Regions from separate parts of the Homo sapiens genome. Here regions 1 and 2 are each linked to region 3. The links are contacts of gene promoters, found by promoter capture Hi-C in blood cells and fetal thymus (Javierre and others, 2016). All regions are on one chromosome and are shown on one strand. Each heading gives the region's core, a stretch centred on a gene start or on the middle of the fragment in contact. The rest is flanking DNA. Distances are from core to core; before and after follow the strand shown.

Region 1 (4,086 bases), core at 1,587-4,086, 3.3 Mb after region 3:
GTCTTGAACTTCTGACCTCGTGATCCACCCGCCTCGGCCTCCCAAAATGCTGGGATTACAGGCATGAGCCACCGTGCCTGGCCTTATGATTCTATTTATATGAAATGTCCAGAATAGGCAAGTCCATGAGACAGCAGATTAGAGTGGGGAGAGGAGACTGGAGAGCCAACAGCTTAATAGTTACCGGGTTTCTTTTGGGGGTAATAACATATCAGGAATTAGTGGTAATGACTGCACAACATTGTGAGTGCAATAAAAGTTACTGAAGTAACTGTATACTTCAAAATGGTAAAAAAGTGAATTTCATGGTATGAATTTACCTCAGTAAAAAAATATTAAAAATTCAGTTTGTAAAGCTATTTGATCACTGAACTTCTGACCTTAATAAATGCATTAACAGTAACTATTTTCTAGATACTAAAATTATAACTTTCCCTTTGTCTAAAAAATTAGAAGTTTCCAATTTGCAAAAGCAGCTCTCACAAAAGCATGCCACATATAAAGGCAATGGAGCATGGCTTAATAGAAGGTAAACACCGTTTGATTAAAACTCAGCACTACATCGTATTTTATCATCATTACTGAATATACAAACATTACCAGATAAAATAACTATGGCAGGCCGGGTGCAGTGGCTCACACCTGTAATCCCAGCACTTTGGGAGGCTGAGGCGGGCGGATCACTTGAGATCAGGAGTTTGAGACCAGCCTGGCCAACATGGTGAAACCCCCATCTCTACTAAAATACAAAAATTGGCCGGGCGTGGTGGCGGGTGCCAGTAGTCCCAGCTACTCGGGAGGCTGAGGCAGGAGAATCTCTTGAACTCGGGAGGTGCAGGTTGCAGTGAGCCAAGATCAGGCCACTGCACTCCAGCCTGGGTGACAGAACGAGACTCTCTCAAAAAACAAAAACAAAAATCTTCATGTATAACTAACTGACAACCCAAATTACACACAGACATCCTGTAATCTGGGACTAGATTGCTAAATCTACTATTCCCATCATCTTCCTGAAATAAAGTCTACAATCTAGACATCTACAAAGGGGGAAAAATGACATTATTTAGGTTCATTCTTTCAAATAATTACTGAGTACCTAACTTCCCGCCAGGCACTCTTGTGGGTGTTGGAGATAAAGCAATAAACGTTGTACTCTCAGAGCTAATTTTTATTGGAGGTGGACAGGCAACCAAACAAGCAACTAGAAAGGATGTTAGAGATTTGGGTGCTTTGAAAGTAATCAATAGGATATTGTGTTGGGAAGAAGGACTACTTTAGATGATCCTATTTAGGGAAAGCCACCCTGAGATGACATGGAGGCCAGGATGTGAAAGTGAGACCTGAAAAGGTCTTGAGGAAGAGCAAGCACTTCAGGCAGTGCCAACAGCAAGAGGAAGGGCTCTAAGCAGGAAAGGAACACATTGCTACCTTGTAGAGTCAGAAAGGAGTAAGTGCGGTTAGAGCGTTTAGAATCGGGGGATAGTGGCAAGACGTGGGTCCAGGGATTGGATCTTAGGTGCATTGAGAAAGTATGGGAGGGATTTACACAGGGGAGCAATGAATTAATCTGCTTTATGTATTTAATGGATCACTCTGACTGCTAGGTGGAGAGTGGGTTGTGTTTAGAGTGGGGACGTGACCAGACGGTGTGGATACTACAGAGTTGCCCAGATAGGAGGTGATGGTGGCTGGGACTGAAGGTGGAAATGGGGCAAAGGGAACATATTCATGATACATTCTTGTGGTAGAGCTGGGATGACAGAGGGAAATCAGAGAAAAACGGAGATGCCTAGGTTTGTATTAAGTTTGAGCAAACAGGATCGTGTTTAACTGAAACAAAGGGGCATGGTTTGGGAATTGGAGTCATATTAAATTTGAGATACCTATTCCATATCTGAACTAAAAATGTAAAATTGGCTAATGATAAACTTTGCTAGAAAAAAACATTACCCAAATAGGGTACCCGATTTGACTAAAATTCCTAATGCTTTGGGAAAAGTTATTAATCAAATAGTGACAGATTATGGCTTTTTTGGGGGGGAGGGGTGTTGTTTTCTTGGAGAACTGACCCGTTTGTTGTTATAAAGGGTTCTCTCTTTATCCCTGATACTTTTTTTTTGAGACGGAGTCTCGCTCTGCCACCTAGGCTGGAGTGCAGTGGTGCGATCGTGGCTTACTGCAAGCTCCGCCTCCCGGGTTCACGCCATTCTCCTGCCTCAGCCTCCTGAGTAGCTGGGACTACAGGCGCCCGCCACCACGCCCGTCTAATTTTTTTGTATTTTTAGTAGAGACGGGGTTTCACCGTGTTAGCCAGGATGGTCTCGATCTCTTGATCTCGTGATCCGCCCGCCTCAGCCTCCCAAAGTGCTGGGATTACAGGCGTGAGCCACCGCGCCCGGCTATCCCTGATAACTTTATTTCAAATAGTGACAGGTTAAAAGTTAAGAGCGGATGTTTCAGTATCTAGTTTCCCAGCGTCTTGCCAGTTACTTTAAGCTTGTCGACAGGAGTTTGATTTCACTGACCTCCCTCCTTCCTAGAGCTATGCTTACTTTTTAAAATTTTAAGAAGCTGCTTCATTTGCCCATTCTTTCAACGCATTGTTGTGTACCGGCACTGAGTCAGTCTTTTTCTTTCTTTCCTTTTTTTTTTTTTTTTTTAAGACAGAGTCTTGCTCTGTTGCCCAGGCTGGCGCGCAGTGGTGCTATCTCGGCTCACCGCAATGTCCTTCCCGGCTCCAGAGATTCTCCACCTCAGCCTCCTTCGTAGCTGGAACCAAAGGCACGAGCGAGCACGCCCGGCTAATTCTTTGTATTTATAGAGAGGGGGTTTCGCCATGTTGCCCAGGCTAGGTCTGTCTTAAAAGAGCTTCTTCCGGCCAGGCGCGGTGGCTCACGCCTGTAATCCCAGCACTTTGGGAGGCCGAGGCGGGCGGATCACCTGAGGTCGGGAATTTAAGACCAGCCTGACCAACATGGAAAAACCCGTCTCTACTAAAAATACAAAATTAGCTGGAAGTGGTGGCGCATGCCTGTGATCCCAGCTATTCAGGAGGCTGAGGCAGGAGAATCGCTTGAAGCCGGGAGGCGGAGGGTGCGGCAAGCCGAGATCGCGCCATTGCACTCCAGCCTGCGAATCAAGAGCGAAACTCCGTCTCAAAAAAAAAAAAAAGCTTCTTCCTTGACGGTTCCCTTTTCCCATGAAATTCAAATGCTTCATTTTATCCCTCATCCTCTTGGCCTTTGCAGTCTTGCTCCCAAGGCTCTTCCCTGCCCGCCAACTCTCTCACTTGGGAACATAGCTCCGTAAGCCTCTGCCCAACCCTTCTCCCCGGCGAGCCCAGCGCCCCAGAGCCCTGCGCAGGGGAATTCGAGTGCGGAGGGCGGCAGGCATCCGTGGGGACCTGGTTCAACTCCTTAGACCGGTTCTTCACCGTCAGCGACTCTCCCCTGACAGATTAGGGTAGGATTTAGAAATGAGAAATGGAAGCGCTGGCTGGGCGGTAGCCGCTGCCATGGCTTCCCGTGTGGTCCTCATCACATGCTATTGTATCTGTTAATTTATTAGGCGCAGGGCCGACTCTGAGGGATCTAGTGCCAGGACAAAGCCAGGCACTGGTGAATGAGCAAACACCTGTGTATGGCTGCTTCTTCCAGCCCTACCTGCTCCATACCCACCCCCAGCGCAGCATTCGAATCTTTGTGATCTCGGCGTCCACAGGGAATTTCGACGCAAGCTGGCGTCAGCCTCAAATTCCCGCTCTGGCAACAAGGCTGACCAAAGACCGATGCATGCCGGGATGAGGCTGGATTGACGATCTCTTGCGACGCTGAAATGCATTTCGGGAGATGTAGTCACACAGACGGGCGGTGGCTGCGCAGCGTAGCTCCGCCTCCTGCGTGAGAGGAAGCGGGGACGTGTGAGGTCACTTCCTGCGTGTTGGGTGGCTTCCTGCGGCGTTTCCACTCTCGCTCTCCTTTCGTTGCCTGATCGCCGCCATCATGGGTCGCATGCATGCTCCCGGGTGAGCTCGGGGCATCAAGCCGGATTGCTGGGCGGGGGGTGGGAGGAAGACAGGGAGTGTGG
Region 2 (3,924 bases), core at 897-3,396, 3.6 Mb after region 3:
TCCCCTGCCTCAGCCTCCCATGTAGCTGGGACTACAGGCATGCACCACCATGCCTGGCTAATTTTAGTAGAGACGGGGTTTCACCATGTTGGCCAGGATGGTCTTGATCTCCTGATCTCGTGATCCCCACGCCTCGGCCTCCCAAAGTGCTGCAATTACAGGCGTGAGCCATCACGCCCAGCCAAAACTTATTTTTTTAAGAGATAGGGCCTCACTCTGTTTCCCAGGCTGGAGTACAGTGGTGCATTCATAGTTCACTGCAGCCTCAAACTCCTGGGCTCAAGTGATCCTCCCACCTCAGCTTCCTGAATAGCTGGGACTGCAGGCATACACCATCACACCCAGCCAAGAGTTCATTCGTGACTCCTCTCTTACATAATACATTCAATCTTTAAGCAAATACTGTTGGCTCTACCTTCAAAATATATCCAGAATCTACTTCCCACCACTCCCATTACCACCCTAGTCCAAGCCCTTGGGCTCACCTAGAATATTGCCATAATCTAATTTTCACAGTTGGCTTCCCAAGTTTTTTTTTTTTAATTAGTGTGATATGATCTAATATTGCAGCTTAAGCAATATTAGATCATGTCACACTAATTAAAAAAATCTGCAAGTTCTTCTCATTCTCCTCAGAATAAAACTCAAAGTTCATATCATGGCTTTAATGATCTTAATTCCTGCTATCTCTTTGAACTCATAACCCTCTGCTGACCCTAGCTTATTTTCATTACATCTCTTAACCCTGTTTTAATATTTAGCACCATCTGACATATATATGAGATATATATGTAAATATATATATATATTTACGCATGGTGGCTCATACCTGTAATCCCAGCACTTTGGGGAGACTGAGGCGGATGGATCACGAGGTCAGGAGATCAAGACCATCCTGGCCAACATGGTGAAACCCTATCTCTACTAAAAGCCGAGATGGTGTATATATACATAATATATACATTATATATATATTATATATGTATTATATAACATATATATAATACATATATAATAGATGTTATATATAACACGTTATTATATATATTATATATATAACGTGTGTGTGTGTATGTGTGTGTATGTATATATATATGAAGTGTTTATTGTGTCTCCCCTCCACTAGAGTCTAAGCTTTATTAAAGCAGGGTCTGATTTTGTTTGCTGTTGTACTCCCAGTGCCTAAGACTGCCTGGCACATAGCAGGTGCTCAATAAATACTTGCAGTTGATCAGACAATTAAAAAAACAAAAGCTAGCAAAAGCTCTGTATAAGGATATAATAGAGAGAAAAATAAATGGCAGATGAAAAACACTCTCCAGAAAAATACTGCTTCAAATATTTGAAAATTATGATTAAATATTTTACAATGACTTTAATATCTTAATTAAAGATTCATCTCTACAAGAACATACATCAGAAATAGAAGATAAGGCCAGGCACAGTGGTTCATGCCTGTAATCTCAGCACTTTGGGAGGCCGAGGCAGGCAGATCACTTGAGGCCAGGAGTTTGAGACCAGCCTGGCCAACATGGAGAAACCCCATCTCTACTAGTAATACAAAAATTAGCCGGGTGTGGTGGCATGCGCCTGTAATCCCAGCCACTTGGGAGGCTGAAGCAGGAGAGTCACTTGCACCTGGGAGGCAGAGGTTGCAGTGACCCGAGATGGTGCCACTGCCCTCCAGCCTGAGTGACAAGAGTGAAACTGTGTCTCGAAAAGAAAAAAGGAAGATACAATGAAATGACAAAGAGTGAAATGTGAGCTGGCAGAACTCAGGAAATCAAAAATAACCGCAAAAATGAAAGTGGGAATGATGGGGTATACAGTGTTTGAATCATGATAAGGGAAATAAGGAAGAGGAATCATAAAGAAAAATAACATAGAGATAGGAAATGACACATGCACATAACTGGAGTTCCTAAAGTAGAAAACGTCCGTCCATTTTCTATTTTTATAGATGAAAGCACTGAGAAACTTTGCTCACATGATAAAAAGTCAATAATAGGTTTTAGGAATGTCAATCTTCTGAACTCTTAGGCCAAAAATCATAGTGATCTTGCATCAAAATTTATTTTTAATAAATTAGCTGACAATTCACTTGTCTGCTAGTTTCATTGAGGGCATCTGACAGATGACAGAAACCATCTGACTTGCAAAGGGAGTCATTCAGGCCTCAACATAAACATGAATGTTTCAAATTGTCCCTTTGTTTGGACCCATGAAATATTTTATTCCCTGGGACAATTAAACACAGTAGGTCTGGCATGGCTGAGAGGTATTGCCTTTCCTCTAGTGGGAGAAAGGCTGTGAAATAAGAGGTAGTTGTCTTAAGGCAGATCAATTTAGGAACAAATACATATGGATGTACAGGATTGGGAAATTATCTACCGAACCCCTTCATGTACTAAGCACGTACATCCTACTGGTTAACAATGCTAAGTACTGCTAACAGGTCAAGGGAAGAATTTACAAGTACTTATGTTTTAGGAAAATGTCAATAATTGATTTGATTAAAGTTTTCAGTGCTCTTGTGTCTAGGGTGGGTAGGAGCCACACTGGAGTGGATTGAGGAGGGAGGGGATGGAAGTAAGAAATAGAGGCAGTAATAGAAAAGTTACTAAAATTAGATATAGATGAGAGAATTACACCAAACATAGGTGGTACCTAGGAGCAACTTGCTTAAAAAGATATGAAATACTTGAACAAATGCCAAAAGAAAAGGGTCACAGATTAAGGGGGAGGTTGAAGACTCAAGGGAAGATAATAAGCACTACATTCACAAGGTTTAAAAGATTCAACAGTAGGCTGGGTGTGGTGGTTCACAACTGTAATCCCAACATTTTGGGAGGCTGAGGCAGGAGGATTGCTTGAGACCAGGAGTTCAAGACCAGCCTGGGCAACATAGCCAGTCTCTACAAATTAATTAAAAAATTAGCCAGGTGTGGTGGCACACACCTGTGGTCCCAGCTACTCAGGAGGCTGAGGTGGGAGGGGCTTGAGCCCGTTGAAGTTAAAGCTGCAGTGAGCCATGACCATGATCATGCTGCTGAACTCCAGCTTGGGTGACAGAGCAGGACCCCATCTCGGGGCGGCAGAGGGGGTGGTGGGAACCAGGAGCCAGCACTTACTGATCACTTATCTATGCACTAAGCTTTTTGTTCATTTTACCTAAGTCTCACAATAACTAACTATGCAAAGGGGGTTACTGTTACTATCCTCATTTTACTTACCCAGAAAGGAGACCCAGAGAGATCAACTTATGCTCAAGGTCACCGAGTTTAGCCCTGTGGTAGAGTTGGGATGTCACAACCTAGAGCACAGAATCTTGTCCATGGCTGTGGATTTAGTAAGTGAAGTTCAGGGAATTTGTGCCTGAAGGTCTCTATTTTTATGTAAGATAGAAGGCAAGGACATGTTAAGAGTGAAGGAAAAAAAGAGGGTAACAAGTTTCAGAGTATAAGTTTTACATAGTAAGAATGGAGAACCGACTAGAGAAAATAAGGGTAATGGGCAGTGCTGAGGTCAGTTAAAACCAATTTTTACTAATACGGATTTATACATTTGGTGATCTTTCTCCAGAAATAACTGGTGAGGGTAGGAGGGCTTGGATACATCTAGGGCTGGGAATTTTCCAGGAAGTCGTTTGGGTTAACAATCATGATACTGAATTGATAGATCAGGAAGCCTAGATAGGACTTACAGAGGTGGAAACAGACTACGCCCTAACACAGAGCAGGTATAAAGGAGGAGGAGTTGGTTAGAAGTGAATACTTTTATTGAGTGATTTTAGAAGTTGTTTTCGGATATTCCAAGTATTTAGGATGTGGCTGTGGTGGAAACAAGTAATGGAACCAAAGCCCTGTGTGTAAGTAGTCACTGAAGCTAACCAGGTAGCTGAAATTTATTTCCCCCAAATTTACT
Region 3 (4,404 bases), core at 140-2,639:
CTGAGGCAGAAGAATCGCTTGAACCTGAAAGGCAGAGGTTGCACTGAGCCGAGATCGTGCCACTGCACTCCAGCCTGGGGGACAGAGTGAGACTCCGTCTCAGAAAAAAAAAAAAAAAAACCTTTAACTTAGAGTGAAGGGAATATCCGATTTACAGACACAAGCCTGGGAAGTCAGGCAGGGCAAATTCTTGTAAGTGAATAATCCCACCTTTCACTGCCATAGACCTATCTCACTCTGCAAAGCAGTTTCAGAATCCCTGACAATATTAGTGTGAAGTGCGCAGGTTGACAAAATCAGCAAAGTGGCTGAGAAAATTCTCAAGGTCACCAGGGCTGCCTCTAGAATACAGCTTGTATGACCCTGAAAACAGTGCTCTTCTGTCTCACCAGCCCCCACCCCCATTACAACCCAGACCCAGCTTTATAGGGTTGCAGATGGAGAGAAGGGCTTTGCCCAAGACCACACAATGAGCGGGAGGGAGGCACACCTGGGCTACAATCCAGGAGTCAGACTTCTGGGAGGGACTCTCACAGACCAATCTTGGCCAAGTTTTGATGGCCTCTCACTACCCCCACCACTGGCAGGGCAGTATTCAGCCTTTAGGCATGAAATATGTTCACCTCGCAGAATCCTGGGGGTCCATTTGAGTCCCAGCTGAAATACCCACCACATTTTTATAAGCTTCCTCGTCGAAGGTGAGCTTCCTCCGGCCAATGAGCGTGACTTTGGAAAACAGGCCCTGCTCCAGGATTTCCTTTAAGAGCACTCTGCCGGTTTCTCCGCTGGCGCCCAAAATAAAGACGGATTTATTCTGCATCCTGAAGTCTTCCCGAAGCTTCGACAGGGCTTCTGTTTCGGCCATGCTGGGGAAATAACATCGACAGATGCCGGTCTTAGGGTGTCAGGGGACTGCCAGTCCTTATCCCGAGGAACAAGGGCTGTTTATCTGTTAGGGAGGAGGATATTGTTCTCCGCAGTCCGGGCTCTGGGGAAAGTGCTGAGTCACGTGCGGGGCGCGGCTCCCCGGCCATCGCCCGCACCTGAGCCAGCAGACCCATCGGAAGGGGCCCGAGCTGGAGGGTGCGCCCAGGTGCCACAAGCTGCTGGCATCACTGGGCATACCCCACGGTATCCCCGGCCCGGCCAGGAGACCTGGCCCAGCTCGGTCCCATACGCGGAGGGGTTACCTGGGGCCAGCCCCCGGCCCCGGGTCCTCACGACGCAGCAGGAGCAGGGCGGCCGCCAGAGCAGCCGCCGCCGCCGCGCTCAGCGCCGCAGGCCCGGCCATCAGAGCATCCCACCTTCCCTGGTCGGACCGGGGGGGTTGGAGGCGACGGAGACAGCGCCTACCCGGCTTGGTCTTCCGGGTGGCCTCGCGGCGACGCTGCCTCGCCCCGCCCACAGGGGCGGGACCTGGAGACGAACTCCTGGCACCCTCACAGGCGCGGGGAAGGTGACCCCGAGAGCACGTGCGCGGAGCCGCGACCCTTCCTAAGTTTGGAATCTGCAAGACCCTCTTCCCGCGTTTTCCCTCACCTGCTGGGCTCAGCTCACCCAGGCGCCAGCTAGTAGACTTGCCAGACTTGATCTTCAATGGTCCCCCCAGCTGGAATGTCAATTGTATATTGGCCATCATCTCAAATTCACCAAGTCAAAAACTTAACCCTGCCTACCCAACCACCCCAAACAGGAATAAAACAAACCTATTCCTAGCCTCTCTTGGGTGTCACTGTCCCTACATAAACATACACACACACACGCACACACACACACACCTCCTTCTACCCTGTCAAGTCAGAAATCAGGATTCCTTTGATTCCTTTCTTTTCTAGCCTTTCCACACTACAGACTTATCAAGTCCTGTTATCCCATCTGCCTTACAAATATTTCTCCCATGTAATTCAAGCTCGCATCATATCTCCCCAGAATAAATGGTCTACCTGCCCAGGTCCTGGCCTAATTCATCACCTAGATGGTTGAACCCGGGTGACCTTCCACACCTGTGATTCAGTCTTCCTAGCCCAGATCAGTGGTTTGGGACACAGGTATCTACACTGGGCCTGTCCTGGATCTTGGAAGTCCTGAACAGAGGTTAGAATGACAAGCAGAAATCTGAATAATTTCAGATTGTTCAGGTTTTGTTGGGAACATTGGTCATTTGGGGGCCCCACCTCCCATCTAGAAGCCAATGAAACACATTGCCTCTTCCATCTCCATGGGAGTTATTATATGTAGGCTTTGCCTAGGCTCAGCAAGCCAGAGGCTCACGCATAGGTTTTCAGTTTTGGAGGAGTAATGAAAAGATGCAGTGAAGGCCTGAGATATATGTGGGTTGGTTGGGGCAAGGGTATAGGATTATGGCATCATATGATCCACCAGCCATCTGATGGTCTGATCTTGTCTTAAATTCCTGCCTGTTTTCAGAGACTGTTGTGAATACAGTACTTCCTGTTATTCTTCTGATAAATTCCTGTGCTGTATAAGCTTACCAGATATATTCTGTTGTTTGCAATAAAAAAGCTTGATTAATATAGAGCAGTGTGGTTCATTCCCCACTGGCCTGTCACAGTGCCTGGACTCTTCCCTTTGAGTTCCTAAAGGTTTTCTACAAGAATGCAATGTTAAACCTTGTCAGCAAACACTGTCCTAGTAATTCATTTATCAAATCTGTCACAGAAATTATTCATTGTACCCTGTCTATTCTTCCCCTTTGTTTAAAATTGTGGCATAATTAATATACAATAAAATGTACAGAACCTAAAGGTTCTGTTCCATGATTTTAGGAGATTGTATATACACCTAAATAACCACCACCAAAAACAAGATATAGAGCATGTCTGCCATCCCTGAAAGTGCCTTCATTCCCTTCTTGCAATCTCTCCCCACTCCAGAGGTAATCACTTTCTGGTCACTATCAACATAGATTAGTTTTGCCTGTTGTAGAATTCTATTTAAGAGTACAGCATGTACTCTTTTGTGTCCCAGGTTTTTGGCTTAACACATATTTTAGTATTTATTCTTGTTTGTAGGCCTGCATTATGATTTCTATGGGCCCTAAGCACTTCATGAGCCCCTTCATTTTATGTACACACACTATATAATCAAAAATTATGTCTTATGACTATGTTGCTATAAAGATGAATATGACAAACTATTTATATAATCAAAAATTATGTCTTATGACTATGTTGCTATAAAGATGAATATGACAATTTCTTTCACCTAAAACATTTTCTTCCACCTAAAAGTTTATTTTCACAGGCCCCAGAACTGTGCCTACTGTGCCAAATGAGTAAATCAGCCCTGGTTGTTTCATGTATCAGGAATTCATTCCTTTTTATTGCTGAGTAGCCTTCCAGTATTCCAGTATGAATATCCCACAACATGTTTAAATATTCTCCTGTTGATGGACATTTGGTTTGTTTCTACCTTTTGGCTAATTATGAATAAGGCTCCTATGAACATTATTGGACCAGTCTTTCTGCAGTAACATGTTTTCATTACTCTTGGACATATATATACACACACACACACACACATATAATGTTTTATATATATATATAATGTGTATATATATATAAAATGTGTATATATATAATGTGTGTATATATAATGTGTATATATAATGTGTATATATATAATGTGTGTGTATATATAATGTGTGTATATATATAAAATGTGTATATATATATATAAAATGTGTATATATATATAAGATGTGTGTGTGTGTGTGTATATATATATATATATATATATATATATATATATATATATATATAATATAATGACCCTGCAGGCAATCAGACCTTTTGGTTGTCTTCCCTTGTCCCCTAAAAATTGCTGTTATTCTGTTCTTTTTCAAGGTGCACTGATTTCATATTGTTCAAACACACGTTTTACAATCAATTTGTACAGTTAATACAGTTATCATAGTGGTCCTGAGGTGACGTATATCCTCAGCTTACGAAGATAACAGGATTAAGAGATTAAAGTAAAGACAGGCATAAGAAATTATAAAAGTATTATTTGGGAACCGATAAGTGTCCATGAAATCTTCACAATTTATGTTCCTCTGCCGGAGCTCCAGGCAGTCCCTCCATTCGGGGTCCCTGACTTCCCACAACACACTTGCAAGCTAGCACGAGCACGTGACAGTGATTTAGCCAACGAGAAGCAAGCAGAGGTAATATGTGCACATTTGAATCACATCTTTATAAGGAAGTTACCTTCTTTCCTTTCACTTTCCCTTTCCCTTCACTTTCCCTTTCCCCCTTTGCTTAGGCCAGAATGTGAATGTACTGGTAAACCAGCTCTGACCATGAGGAGAAAGACACTCTCTAGAGGATAGCAGGGCAAGGAGCCCTTGGATGACTTCATAGAACAGAGCCGCCTGCCCACCCT

The links. Contacts are between HindIII fragments. The CHiCAGO score rates a contact against its expected background, and 5 or more counts as called.
Region 1: a fragment that was not itself captured here is called in contact with the fragment with the promoter of HTATIP2 in region 3 in 2 of 17 cell types (non-activated CD4 T cells and naive CD4 T cells); the score reaches 10.2 in non-activated CD4 T cells.
Region 2: a fragment that was not itself captured here is called in contact with the fragment with the promoter of HTATIP2 in region 3 in 1 of 17 cell types (non-activated CD4 T cells); the score reaches 6.5 in non-activated CD4 T cells.

What each region holds. Positions count from the first base shown.
Region 1 is chr11:17,077,557-17,081,642 of GRCh38, reverse strand. It overlaps RPS13 (ribosomal protein S13), which reads left to right and starts at 3,976. Exons shown (of 6, transcript NM_001017.3): 1 at 3,976-4,024. The coding sequence starts at 4,002. RefSeq lists an enhancer at 3,743-3,942. The HindIII fragment of the contact is 676 bases long and covers 2,499-3,174 here.
Region 2 is chr11:16,757,942-16,761,865 of GRCh38, reverse strand. C11orf58 (chromosome 11 open reading frame 58) reads right to left here. Exons shown (of 5, transcript NM_014267.6): 5 at 3,526-3,924. Among named protein-coding and RNA genes, the nearest start is that of C11orf58, 21 kb to the right of the region's middle. The HindIII fragment of the contact is 2,020 bases long and covers 1,137-3,156 here.
Region 3 is chr11:20,360,699-20,365,102 of GRCh38, reverse strand. It overlaps HTATIP2 (HIV-1 Tat interactive protein 2), which reads right to left and starts at 1,389. Exons shown (of 5, transcript NM_001098522.2): 1 at 671-1,389. The coding sequence starts at 865. RefSeq lists silencers at 1,040-1,182, 969-1,388 and an enhancer at 4,151-4,370. The HindIII fragment of the contact is 1,649 bases long and covers 841-2,489 here.